Regions from separate parts of the Homo sapiens genome. Here region 1 is linked to region 2. The links are contacts of gene promoters, found by promoter capture Hi-C in human tissues and cell types (Jung and others, 2019). All regions are on one chromosome and are shown on one strand. Each heading gives the region's core, a stretch centred on a gene start or on the middle of the fragment in contact. The rest is flanking DNA. Distances are from core to core; before and after follow the strand shown. Region 1 overlaps ZBTB40 (zinc finger and BTB domain containing 40). Region 2 holds the start of ZBTB40 (zinc finger and BTB domain containing 40).

Region 1 (3,500 bases), core at 366-2,865, 63 kb after region 2:
CCTCTGGAGGCCTGGGCTGAGACAGTGCTCTTGGTATCCTGTGCTAGATTCCTAACACTGATTAGTAGCATCTCTTCTGGCCTCTGGTGTGCTTGGCTTCCCTAGGCATGCAGTACCATAAGCTGACAGAGCACTTCGATGAGAAGCCTTTCTCCTGTGAAGAGTGTGGGGCGAAGTTTGCAGCCAATTCCACCCTGAAGAACCACCTTCGCCTTCACACCGGGGACCGCCCGTTCATGTGCAAGCACTGCCTCATGACCTTCACCCAGGCCTCCGCCCTGGCCTATCACACCAAGAAGAAGCACTCAGAAGGTAAGGCGGGGCACAGTTCATTTCTCCTGCAGACTTTCACTGCGAACTGCCTAAACCCCATTTGGATTAGGTGTGATATATATCTCAAAAACAAAACAATTTGATAGCACAACAGGGTGACTAAAGTCAATAATAACTTAATTGTACATTTTAAATACAGTGTAATTTGGATTATTTATTACACAGAGGATAAATGCTGGAGGGGATGGATCTCTCATTCTCCCTGATGCAGTTATTTCATATTGCATGCCTGCAGCACAACATCACATGTACCTTGTGAATATATACACCTACTGTGTACCCACAAAAGTTAAGTATCAAAAAAAAAATAAGGCTGAGGCAGGCGGATCACAAGGTCAGGAGATTGAGACCATCCTGGCTAACATGGTGAAACCCCATCTGTACTAAAAAATACAAAAAATTAGCCAGGCGTGGTGGCGGGCACCTGGAGTCTCAGCTACTCGGGAGGCTGAGGCAGGAGAATGGTGTGAACCTGGGAGGTGGAACTTGCAGTGAGCTGAGATTGTGCCACTGCACTCCAGCCTGGGCAACAGAGTGAGACTCCGTCTCAAAAATAATAATAATAATAAATAAAATTAAAAAACAATGCACAACCTCTAGGCAAACAGACGACTGGGAATAGCTCTGTGCACAGACGTAAACTGCTTACTGGGAGAGCTTCTGAAAGAGACTGGCTAACCTCCTATGACTTTATATTAGGTCTTGTGGAAAAGTCATTGTGGTTTTTGCCATTAAAAGTTATAGAGAATTTACATAAAATTATTTGAGCTTTGAAGTCGAGTTCAAGCATGAGAAGGACCCTGACTAAGCACCTACCGTGGATCAGACAGTGGCAGATGCCGAGTGGCTGAGCTGGGATTCCTGTGTGCCCATAGCTTGTGGCCTGAAGGGGGCAGGGAGAGGGGAGTGTAGCGCCCGTTACAATGCAGATTGTCAGCGGTATAATGTGGAATAACACCAGCGTGATGAGGAAGGATGGAGAAGGGGTCTCTAGTCCAGTTGGAGGGGAGGAGGAGGTACATTGTCAGGGAAGGCTTTTTGGAGCAGCCTACCTATTGTTTAGAGCATTTCTTTATAAATTATAAGGTAACCATTGTTTGACGTGGACTGTCACAGTAGCCTCAAAGCTGGTCTTGCTTTCACCATTTCTCTTGATACTTAAAAAATAAATAAACCCTATCAGGTCACTTCTCTGCTCCAAATTCTTCAATGGCTTTTTGTCCCACTCAGTTGTGAAATCCAGAGTCCTTAAGATAGCCTCCTCAGCCCTCTGTGATTAAGGTTCCTGATTCCTCTCTGACTTCATCTCTTAGGCCTGCACATTTTAGCTTTCTGGCCAGGCCTCAGGCCCGCAGGCACCTGCTCCAGGACCTTTATTCTTACCCTTCCCTTTGCTGGGGACGCTTCCCATCAGACATCTCACGTTTCACTTCCTCACCTCCTTTGAGACCTTACTCACACTTACCTTCTCTGTGAGTCCCTTCCTGGGCCACCCTCTGTAAGGTCTCAGCACCCCACCCCTGGTTTCCATGCAGTATTTTTCTCCCATAGTGCTTCTCATATGATGTAGTATCTACTTTAGTAATTTATTTCTGCTTAGTCTTCCCTGTTAGAATGCAAGTGTCATGAGTGGCAAGCTGTTAGTCTTTCTTTTCCCACTGCTGTATCCATGGGACTTAGACTAGTACTTGGCAATAGTAGGCCTTCAATCGATATTTGCTGAGTGAATGAATTTCACAAGCATTGTTTCAGACATGGGGTATTATAAATATACGCACCCCTGTCATGGGACTTACATCCCACTGGGTAAAACTGACAATAAACAAATAAATATATAGTATAAATTTAGATAGCAGTTATTACTATGAAGAAGCATAAAGCAGGGTACACAGTGAGAGGACAGGGCTTGGGGGACACTATTTGTATCATCAGAGAAGGCCTCTGCAAGATGGCATTTGTGGAGAAACCTAAACAAAGTGAGAGATGGAGCCAGTGAAAGACCTAGAAGGAGAGCATCCCAAGTGCAGAGCTGCCTCCCCGGTGGAAACGAGCTTTACCTGCATGAGAGACCACAGAAAACTAGAAGGGGCTAAAGCAGAGTCAACGAGGAAGAGCATTAAGAGATAAGGCCAGAGATGCTAGCAAAGGCTGGACCTTGGAGGGTCTTATAAGCCAAGGTGAGGACTTTTGGTTTTTATGTGAAGTGTGTTAGTTTATCCTGCTGCTGTAACAAATTACCACAAATGCTGGCCTAAAACAACCCAAATATACTCTTTTACCATTCTGGAGGATAGCAATCCAAGATGGGTCTTGTGAGGCTAAATTCAAGCTTTCGGCAGAGTTCCTTCTGGAGGCTCTAGGGGAGATCTCATTCCTTGCCTTTCCAGCCCCTAGACGTTGCCCGCATTCCCTGGCTCTTGGCCACATCACCCCAACCTCTGCCTCCATCACCATACCTCCTTTTCTGACTCTTCTTCCTCCCTCTTATGAGGACCCTTGCGATTACATTGAGCCCACCTGGATAATCCAAGACAACCCCCCCATCACAAGATCCTTAATCCAGTCACATTCACAAAGTCCTTTTGCCATGTATGGTAACATACACACAGGTTTGAGGAATTAGGACATGGACATCTTTGGGGGCCATTATCCCGCCTACCACATGAAGCCATAGAAGGGTTTTGAGCAGAGAATGAGTGGTAGGATCTAATTTACATTTTCAGAAGTTAATTCTGGCCACTCCAGACAATGAGCTATAGTAGGGCAAGAGGGAAACAGAAGGCTGTTAGAGCCGTTCAGTGTAGAGGTGATATAGTTTTCAACTAGAGTTGTGTTAGTGGGGGTTGTAAAGAACGTTCAAGTTTTAGGATATATTTTTGAAAATGGAGGTAACAGGACTCATGGTGGATTAGATGTGGGATGTGAAGGAAAGAAAGGAACTAAAGGAACTGAAGGCTTTGGGGCTTTGCCATGAGCAACTGAGTGAATGATGCTGCCATTTACTGAGATGGGGGAGTGTGTGGATGGTGGCTGTGGGGGTGATGGGGATAGAGCATTGGAAGCTCTGTTTTGAGCTCCCAAAACAGATGAGGACTTTGGGTTTTTATGTGAAGTATGTTAGTTTATCCTGCTGCTGTAACAAATTACCACAAATAGTGGCCTATTTG
Region 2 (3,898 bases), core at 164-2,663:
GTAAATCCGACCCTGAATGTAACGGTGACATGAGTATAATAGTGAAAGTGACTAACTGGGCACAAGGGTATGAGGACAACAGTGTACCCTGAAGGGGCCTGTTAAATACTGGCTTGACTGTGTGGCAGCAAAAGTGGCTGCATGACAATGACAGTGAAAACAACAGAAAGGGCAACAGCTGGGCAAACAAAGTGCTATTTTGAACAGAACCGTTTGAAGTTTATGGTCAATGACGGTAGCTGCATGTCAGACAGTGACAGTAAATATGATCGACCGGGAGACAGCAACAATGCAAGTGACAGTTCTGCCCAGTAGATTGAATTTGTGATGTAAAACGGTGATGGGGTGAGTCAGTCAGCCAGAGACAGCTCTCAGAACGACTGAATATTGACATTGCAGATGGAAAAGGTATAACCACAGAGGAAGCTGGACATTGCACTAAGATGGCTGGATTTGGGCACGTAACTGTCAGGGACAGAAAAAGTGGCTGCATGTCAGTGACAGGGTGACTGTGTTCAGTGGGCCAGCGCGGAGGTGACTCAGTTTGTTACTGCTGGATCTGATTTAAATGTTTGTGTAAGGAAGGGTGGCAAGGGGACGCTTCAACAGGGAACGCATAGTGTGTGAGAAGGAAAATGAGCAAAAGAAAAGCTAGGACTAAATCCCAAAGCCCCTAAATCCCAAAATTGGGAGGTGCGAGAGGCAGGATCAGGATGCCTCCAGGATGCCTTCAGCCCACTGCGCCCCACCAGCGCCAAGCCTGTCCCACAAAGAGTGCGGGCTGGGGACGCGGCTCAGGTCGCCTCTCCGCCTCGCACGTGAATGTGTTGTTTTGGAAAAACGAAGCCTTTTGTGTTCACTTCCTTGCCCTCCTTTGAAACAAAATCCTAATCCTAGAGCTGCCGGAGCGAGACTGCGGAGCTCCATTAGAACTTTCCTTAGGGCCGGGCATGGTGGGAGGCCGAGGCAGGTGGATCATCTGGGCTCAGGAGTTCGGGACCAGCCTGGCCAACATGGTGACATCCTGTCTCTACTAAAAATAGAAGAGAAAAAAAAAATTAGCAGGGCGTGGTGGCGCGCGCCTGTAATCCCAGCTACTCGGGAGGCTGAGGCAGGAGAATCGCTTGAACCTGGAAGGCGGAGGCTGCAGTGGGGCGAGATCGCGCCGCTACACTCCAGCCTGGGAAACAAGAGCGAATCTCCCATCTCAAAAAAAAAAAAAAGAAAAAAACTTTACTTAGGAAGTGTGGGGAGGGAAGGAGGGAGTGGCCAAGGTCAGAGGTCAGAGAAGAGCCTAGCAACCAGCCGGCCCCCGCCGTCCTAGCATAGGTGGAGAGCGAGCGCGTGACGCAGGCCCCGCCCCCAGCACGTGACCGCGGCGCGTGGGGCAGGTCGGGCCGCCCCCTCCCCTCTGATACCCATTGCGCGCCGGCCTCAAGATGGCCGCCTTCTGGCGTCTCCGGCGCTGTTGAATGGCGAAAGCTTTATTGTTCCCTTCGGGCAGGAGTGTTCGTGTCCTCTATGGCGCTGTCAATAAAGAACGGCAGTTTGAATCGGTGCTGAACAGGTAACCATAGAAACGGGGCTGGGACTCCGCGTGGAGACCCTTCCTGCAGCGGGGGCCCGGGTGCGCCCTAAATGAGGGGTGTATACAGACCCTTCCGCGTGGCGAACTCCGCGGGACTCGGCCGAATCACGGCCGCCTCACCTACACCCCGGACGTGCCCCCTCCAGGGGCGGTCCGCACCCCTGGCGCCGGCTCTGCTGTAGACTGCGGAGGGGAGAGACCGCGGGGACCCACTCAGGGCGCCAGGCCCGACCTGACACCGCCTGGGGCTCGCTGTCGCCCCGCACCTCCCTCTCGGCCCGTCCGGAGGCCTCTTGTCGCTGTCTCACTCCCCCTCCCTTCAGGTCCCTTCGCCGGGCGTCAGCGGACTATGGCCTTGGGCCTAATCCATGCCCCCCTTCTCTCTTCCCCTCTCGGTCTTTGTTTACAGTTGCAAATGGTTAGGGGGAAGAATATTTCATGTAATTTGCGAAAGTTCTATGAAATCAAGTCCATAAATGAAGTTTTATTGGAACACGGCCCTGTTCATTGTTGATGTATTGTCTATGGCTGCTTTCCTGCCAAGAGGGCAGAGCTGAGTAGTTGCGCAGCCGTTGCTTGGCTTTGATCGGCTGGCTCACAAAGCCAGAAATATTTCTGTCTGGTCCCTTACAGCAAAAGTTTACTGACCCCTGCCCTAAACACAAGGAGATTGGATCAGTGTTGTCATTCAGCTATTCCTCTCGTCGGTTCTTCTGGAGTGGGAAAAGAGTTAAAACTGCGCGATGCACCGAGAGCACTTTAGTTGACAGAACACTCTGGCTTCCCTTCTGGTCTTACTGACTATTCAGAGTTTCTCCTGCTTTGAATAGCGTTGGTACCATGCAGCCAGTGCTGCAATGAACCAGGTGCTTTATTTATATTCATACAAGTGTTGTTCTACTTTATGACGACGCTTTATAAGTAAGTATGGTATTTCCATTTTACAAACGAGGAAGAAATTTGTTCTGAGTGGTTAATATATGTATAGGTGTACTAGGTTATAGGGCTGCCAAATTGAGCCTGTCCCTGGGAGCCCCCTGCCTGATGGCACCGGTCAAACTGCTTTGGATTTTATTCTTTCAAGTCTTTTCTACCTGGAATTGTTTGTTCTTCCCTGGAATTGTACCCAGATCTTTGTATGGTTAATGGAGATTTAATTACAATCTCAGTGAAATTTTTTTCTACTTAGCTAAATCATCAAACTTCTGCCCCTCCTTTCTAATATAAACACTTTTCTTCTATGTCAGTAGTCCCCAAACTTAGCTATTCATTAGTGGTTTAACAAATGGTTTCAGAACACCCCATGCATGTACGCATGCATTCATTAATCATTTAGTGTTTGTTGAGCACTTACTGTGTACCAGAGACGTTTCAAATTCCTGGAAATACAGTGGTGAACAAGACAAATATGATTTCTGCCCTTCCATGGAATTTAAATTCTATGTGGGGCTTGGACAAGTGGTATACAGGTAGACAAAGATAATTTCAAATACAGCTGTAATAGCATCATCATAATAAAATTATTAGTTGCTATTTACTGAGTGATTATTTTGTGCCAGGTACTGTGCTAAGTGCTTTATTTATATGGACTATCACTTAATCCTCACACCAATACTATGACATAAGTAGTATTAATATTACCATTTTACGCATAGAGGAAACAAACTCACGTCGGAGAGATGTTCGAGGTTACATAGCTAAGGCATTCAGCTGAGAGCTGAAGCTAATCTGATCACACTGAACACCCTGTATTGTTCCATCTGTTTATTGTCTTTCCTACTAGCTTAGGAGGTCCTTAAGGGCAGGGACCACACCTTACTGTTGTTATCCTCAGCTGCTAGCCAGTACCCACAACCTGGTGTTTGCAGGTAAATACCAAGTAAACAAATCTAGGTCATTCATTGAACAAATTTTTATTTTATTTTATTTTATTTATTTTTTTGAGACAGAGTCTCGCTGTGTTGCCCAGGCTGGAGTGCAGTGGCACAATCTCGGCTCACTGCAACCTCCGCCTCCCGGGTTCAAGTGATTCTTCTGCCTCAACCTCCTGAATGGCTGGGACTACAGGCATGTGCCACGACACCCGGCTAATTTTTTGTGTGTTTTTAGTAGAGACAGAGTTTCACCATGTTGTTCAGGCTGGTCTTGAAGTCTTGACCTCAAGTGATCTGCCCGCCTCAGCCTCCCAAAGTGCTGGGATTATAGGCGTGAGCCATCGCGCCCGGCCTCGAACAAATATTTTAGTGTCTCCATGTACCAAGCACCACTGTCTAGGTCCTGTGATTACCAGGGTGAGCAAGATGGACCTGG

Evidence for each region. Contacts are between HindIII fragments. The study calls those that stand out against the background at their distance.
Region 1: a contact is called between a fragment that was not itself captured here and the fragment with the promoter of ZBTB40 in region 2, in 1 of the 25 tissues and cell types used here (H1 embryonic stem cells).

Annotation. Positions count from the first base shown.
Region 1 is chr1:22,512,819-22,516,318 of GRCh38, forward strand. ZBTB40 (zinc finger and BTB domain containing 40) reads left to right here. Exons shown (of 18, transcript NM_014870.4): 12 at 106-312. Among named protein-coding and RNA genes, the nearest start is that of EPHA8, 49 kb to the right of the region's middle. The HindIII fragment of the contact is 7,383 bases long and covers 1-3,500 here.
Region 2 is chr1:22,450,438-22,454,335 of GRCh38, forward strand. ZBTB40 (zinc finger and BTB domain containing 40) reads left to right here and starts at 1,414. Exons shown (of 18, transcript NM_014870.4): 1 at 1,414-1,567. RefSeq lists silencers at 659-953, 1,268-1,467, 1,808-1,897 and enhancers at 1,343-1,904, 1,618-1,697. The HindIII fragment of the contact is 15,295 bases long and covers 1-3,898 here.